Linked DNA regions of Homo sapiens: region 2 is linked to region 1. The links are contacts of gene promoters, found by promoter capture Hi-C in human tissues and cell types (Jung and others, 2019). All regions are on one chromosome and are shown on one strand. Each heading gives the region's core, a stretch centred on a gene start or on the middle of the fragment in contact. The rest is flanking DNA. Distances are from core to core; before and after follow the strand shown. Region 1 holds the start of PKN1 (protein kinase N1). Region 2 overlaps ADGRE5 (adhesion G protein-coupled receptor E5).

Region 1 (2,874 bases), core at 279-2,778:
TCGGCCTCTTGAGCTCAAGCGATCCTCCCGCCTCAGCCTCCTGGTAGCTGGGACTACAGGCGTGCGCCACCATGCCCGGCTGGATGGGTTCTGGATCAGCATAATTCTCCTCCTTCTCTCTTTCTGTTGTTAGTATCTCCCAAAGAGTTGCTCAGAGGAAAAAATAAGAGAGAAAACATCGCGCCCTGGTTTCTGGGACGACTGAAACCACGCAGAGCCACGGGTAACCAAGGTACCCGCAGCCCACGGCGCTTCCTCGGGTCCCAAAGGGCGCCAATGTGCAGGCACCGCCGCCAGGGAGCGCTCCCTGCCGGAGCCCCGGAGACCAAGGTTTGGCTCCCTCGCCTGGTTTCCGAAGGAGTGAGGGTCCGACGGCGGCCACGAACAAAGCTGCACGCTCTGCAGACCCCGGAGATCCCCTAGAAATTCCGCAGAGGCCTCCACTCTCCGCTTGGGCACGAGTCTGCATTTATGGAGCGCCATCTGCATGCAGCAGCCCCGAAAAAGAAGGCGATGCCCATTTTATAGCGGGGAAAACTGAGACTCAGAGGCCACAGGGGTCCCCAGGATGAACAGCAAGTTGGGATTCAAACCTCTTTTAATAACAATAACGATAATAGAGGCTGGGCGCGGTGGCTCAGGCCTGTGTAATCTCAGCACTTTAGGAGACCGAGGCGGGCGGATCACCTGAGATCAGGAGTTCGAGGCCAGCCTGGCCAATATGATGAAACCCCGTCTCTACTAAAAATACAAAAATTAGCCGGGTATGGTGGTGGGCACCTGTAATCCCAGCTACTCAGGAGGCTGAGGCAGAAGAATCACTTGAATCCGGGAGGCGGAGGTTGCAGTGAGCCGAGATCGCGCCACTGCACTCCAGCATGGGCAACAGAGCGAAACTCCGTCCAAAAATAGCAAAACAACAAACAAACAATTACGATAACATTAAAAGTGACAGCAGCTAACACTTATGGAGCGTCTAGTGTGTTCTCAGCTCTTGGCCTGCACTGTCTTATTGAATTTTACCAACACCGAGGAGGTGAGCGCATCATTCCCATTTCACAGATGAGGTGCCTGGAAGGGTTTGTCTCCCTCAAGGCGTAAAGCGCTAGGATTTGAATGCAGATCCGCCCAGAGCTTGTCTCCAGGTAACGGGGAAACTTCCATGCCCTTGAATAGGGGACCACAGATGCAGGCGTCCCGAGCTTGCAAATGCACCGGGGTAGGGTGGGGTGGGGGGTTATTCTGTTTGTTTTTTTCAGGGGTCCCGGGAGGCCCAAAGGCCTCCGCCGCTCTCGGCTTGAACGCGTGGAACCGTTCTCCTCGGGTTCCCGCGCGCTCCAATGGGGGACCCCTCGGCAGCGTGCGGTCGTCTCGGGACCCGGAAAGAGGAAAGGTGGGGAGCCGATGGGGATGCTCCGGGCTCGGGAGACCGAGGGGGCGGACGGGCGGGACCCCGCAGCCCCGGGGGCCTCTGGGAACCCGTCCCCCCTCGGCCCCGCCCCCTCCCCGGGCGCCGACCTCCGGGGTCACGTGACCAGGCCCGGCGGCCGCTGGGGCCGGAGGGCGCGGCGCGGGGACGCGGCGGCCTGGCCAGGCGAGGCGGGAGCCGAGCAGGCCGGAGCGGGCCGCGCGCCGGGGAGGGTCGCGCCGCGCCCGCCCCCTCCCCGCCACGCCCGGGGCGCACGCGCGCTCCTCTGGCCGCCCCTCCCTCCGCGCGGGGACCCCTGGCGGGCGGCAGGAGGACATGGCCAGCGACGCCGTGCAGGTAGGCGCACCTGCGTCTGGAGTCCCGGGGCGACCGGACGGCGCCGGCGGACCCCGCCCGCGCGCTGCCGGGGGAGCCCCCCCAGCCCCCGGAACGGGACTCGGGTGACGATGGCAAGGGCGGGGGCCTCCGGAGCGCCCGGCGCCCCCTCCCTGGGCCGGGACTGTGGAGCCAGCGAGGCCCCCTTCTCGGCAGGTGGCGATGTGGACTGGGCTGGTTTGGGGGCGATCCCGGAGGCAACCCCTGCTACACCCTCAAACTCGGCCTCTCCTGGAGAACTAGAAGGGGCGCGGCGGAGGCTCTACTTCGGGTGTCTGTGGCTGGCTGGGCGTCCCAGTGCCTCTCGTCCGCCCCCAAACTCATCCCCCTCCCCAGGGTTGGGTACCCGGCAGGTGCCGCTCCACCTGGGGCACGTGCCTGGCGCAGTGCCCTGGGAGGGGAGGAGGCTGCTGGGCCCGGCCCGTGCCCTTCCCCCGCATAACAAAGCTCCAGCCACCCCCGCCTCTAGACAGCTTTATGATGTTCCAGACGCCACCCAGATTGGCACCTGTTGGCGGAAGTACCCGAGTCACTGCATTAGGTCGGGGGAATGGGGACCCCCACTCCCACCCTTGGGCTGTCAGGTGGAACCTTCTCCTGGGTGGGGAGTGTCTCAGTCAACAGGCCAGGGATGCTCCCATATATAGAATCCTACTTTTTTGCATGGTGGCTGGGCATGGCTGGGTCACCCCCACCCTGCTAACACACACACGTGACTGGCACCAGCCTCCCGCCCAGCCAGATTCCCCTTGTGCCACCTGGTGGGGATCACTGACCTGGACTCATCTTCCCCGTCTGTGACAAGCACGGCCAGGGTGACTGCCAACCTTCTTTGGTTCAAGTGACCCAAATCTGAGAAATGTCTGTGCCTCAGTGTCCCCATTAGCACCTCACCATCCAGTTCATTGTCCTGTGGTTGTTGTGTAACTGGGTTCTCGTCTCCTTCTGCACCTGCCCCCGGCCCCTTTGTGTCTCCCCGGTAACCCCCGGTCCCTCCCGCCTTCCCAGTCCTGCTGATGGCCTGCCGGCCTTGCCGAGGAGCTGGGCGTATCTGGTGTTGCCGATCACAC
Region 2 (2,874 bases), core at 240-2,739, 38 kb before region 1:
GAACTGGAAAAAGATCCCCCTCTCCCGGTGGATACATTTGACAAACAAAAAGTGGGCTGGTTTTCAGCCCCTGCTCATCTCATTGGCCCAATACCTGTGCAGTGAGCAACCTGCACAGCTGTACTTGGTGATCATGGTTTCCTCCCAGGGTGCTCTGGCTAGGGGTGCCGCCCACCCACTGCTATGAACCCCCTGCATGGGATGGTGGTTGTGGTTATGAAGGAGGTGTGTTGCTGTGTTAGAAACAGGCCTGGGCTGAGAGAAGGGGACTCAGTCAGGCAGCTGGGCAGAGACATGGACAGCAGGGCTGAGGTGATAAGAGGGACCTCCACGGACATCAAAGCAGGTGATGGAGCCAACAGCCTGCTGGTTTGGAGCAGGACCTATGACCAGAGGTGAGACGCTCAGAGGGGCCTGGGCCCCTCCCTTTAACCCAAGGCACTCCAGGCTTCGCTATTGCACCTGAGGACACGTGCACCCAGTGTCACAGCCCATGGGGCCTGTGACATCCAGGCCAGAGACCTCGGGCGGCTCCCTCCACTCCTCACCCCCCTGTCTCCAGGCATCTCAGGGCCATCCTAAACCCCTGATCACCCGTCTTTGTCCCAACCCTGAGACTCGGGACACTCCACAGGAGGCCACTTTGGAAGCTCGGAACATCCCCCTGCCCATCTGGCATCTTATTTGCATAAAACAAAAGGGGGCTGGCACTCAGGATATTTCATGGGCTCATGACATGGCGTGTGGTGGCGCATTCCAGTACAGTATCCATCCTCTCCGCCATCGCCGGGGACTGCCAGGATGAGACTTGCTGCCACCGGGGCTCCCATGAGCTCAGCCACACCTGGAACCCCTCTGACACCCACACCTACCATAATGAACCCCAAAACCCTGTCCAGAAACTCAGGAGGAGGGAATCTCAAGGACAGGACAACTGTCTCCAGCCAGCAGCCTTGCTTGGAGAAGATGCCTCCCGACCACCTTTCTGGCCGTTTAGCCCTCATCCATTTCCCCATCCAAGGCTCCACCCTAACCCACCCTGGTAATTCCTGGGCCTGAACGCACCGTCAATGACCAAAGCTTGGGAGGATGCTGTGGCCAGGTGTGGGCAGCGTGATGTGGACCCCACAAATGGATTCAGAGGGCTGGGTGCCGTGACTCATGCCTGGAATCCCAGCACTTTGGGAGGCCAAGGTGGAAGGATCACTTGAGGTCGGGAATTCGAGAGCAGCCTGACCAACATGGTGCAACCCTGTCTGTACTAAAAATACAAAAATTAGCCGGGCGCAGTGGCACGCACCTGTAATCCCAGCTACTCAGGAGGCTGAGGCAGGGGAATCGCTTGAACCCGGGAGGCAGAGGTCGCAGTGAGCTGAGATCACATCATTGCACTCCAGCCTGGGCAACAGAGAGAGACGCTGTCTCCAAAAAAAAAAAAAAAAAACAAAAACGCACTCAGAGGGTTGGATGAAGGAGGCGGCTCCAGCCTGGACTAGCCGGCAAGAGACAGCATCACTGGGGACCATCGTCCCAGGCCCGATCCTCTCCTGTAGTCAGTCCTGGTCTGGACCACTCAAGGACAGAGATGGAAGCTTGAACCCCATTCAGCAGGGCCCACAGGTCTCTGTCCCTGGTGGAATGACAAGGGATGAGAGGACAGATACATCTGCCACCCCTCACCCATCGGCACCTGTGCCCTCTCTAGCCACAGGCCCCCGCTCACGGCCAGTTCTGCTTAGATATGGATTCTCACCAAATCCTGCTATTTCCATATCCATAGATCCTTTCCTGGGGATCAGAAAAAAGCATCTTTGTAGACTCGGGGCTGCCTGGCTGGACATCAGCCCCCACTGTTCACCCCAGCCTGGTGCCCACTGTCCGGGCAGCCCTAGCCTGTCCCACATCATCCCGCACTCTCCCCACCCCTGCTATTGCCCTGCATCGCGGGGGCACTGGCTTAGGGAGGGGTCTTGGTCCATGCCCATGAAGCTGGGCTCTCAGAGCTAGTGTGGATGGGAGAGCAGCATCCTGCTAGGGCCACCAGGATGCTGAGAATTTGGCCAGCGAGCGGCCGTTCTGTGGGAGTCAGGCCGAGGGCCACCGTTGGGAACCAAGACGTGTCCTGCCCAGGCGCACGGCATGTCCCCTGCATTTGGTTCTCAGGAAGGCCCCACCCTGGCCTTTGCCCGGAATCCTTAGGCTGGGACACAGATGGCTGGGACACCCCAGCTTGGAGCTGCCCAGGAAGGCAGAGGAGAAGGGGAGGACTTGGCTGCTTCCAGCCACATCTGGACAACAGAAGGACTGAGCCACCACCCTCACCATAGGATGCCTCTGTGTGGATTGGAAAAGGGAGGAGACAGTGGTGCCTTCCAGATGCTTCCGTGCCAGGAAACATGGCGGACCCTCAGCCCTGAAAGCTGCTCACAGCTACGGGCATCCTTCACCCTCTCCTTCCTCTTGCAGATGTGGACGAATGTCAGCAGAACCCAAGGCTCTGTAAAAGCTACGGCACCTGCGTCAACACCCTTGGCAGCTATACCTGCCAGTGCCTGCCTGGCTTCAAGTTCATACCTGAGGATCCGAAGGTCTGCACAGGTAGAGGCCCCAGGAAGACGCCGTGAGGCTGGACGGGAGCTGGGGATGGAGCTGAGGCACGTCCTCCAAAGCAGCCGAGGAGGAGGGGGAAGATCCGCAGGTTCCCACAAGGTCAAGGACCTGCTAAGCCCCTGCCTAAGGATTCACCTCCCAGGAAGGTCCTGCCACACGGCAGGGAGGCGGCAGGGCCTTCAGGGCTGGAGTGCCCTTGTGGGCCCCCAGACCTCACCCCTTCCTCATCTGTCACGTGCGAGTGGAAGAAGGTGTCACTTCCAG

The links. The method cuts DNA at HindIII sites, captures the fragments that hold promoters and counts their contacts. A contact is called where the count stands out against the background at its distance.
Region 2: a fragment that was not itself captured here is called in contact with the fragment with the promoter of PKN1 in region 1 in 1 of the 25 tissues and cell types used here (spleen).

What each region holds. Positions count from the first base shown.
Region 1 is chr19:14,431,778-14,434,651 of GRCh38, forward strand. It overlaps PKN1 (protein kinase N1), which reads left to right and starts at 1,529. Exons shown (of 22, transcript NM_002741.5): 1 at 1,529-1,765. The coding sequence starts at 1,745. RefSeq lists enhancers at 269-548, 1,423-1,996, 1,997-2,569 and silencers at 1,279-1,618, 1,789-1,858, 2,149-2,258. The HindIII fragment of the contact is 61,187 bases long and covers 1-2,874 here.
Region 2 is chr19:14,393,876-14,396,749 of GRCh38, forward strand. ADGRE5 (adhesion G protein-coupled receptor E5) reads left to right here. Exons shown (of 20, transcript NM_078481.4): 5 at 2,467-2,598. Among named protein-coding and RNA genes, the nearest start is that of ADGRE5, 14 kb to the left of the region's middle. RefSeq lists an enhancer at 2,561-2,874. The HindIII fragment of the contact is 4,012 bases long and covers 1-2,874 here.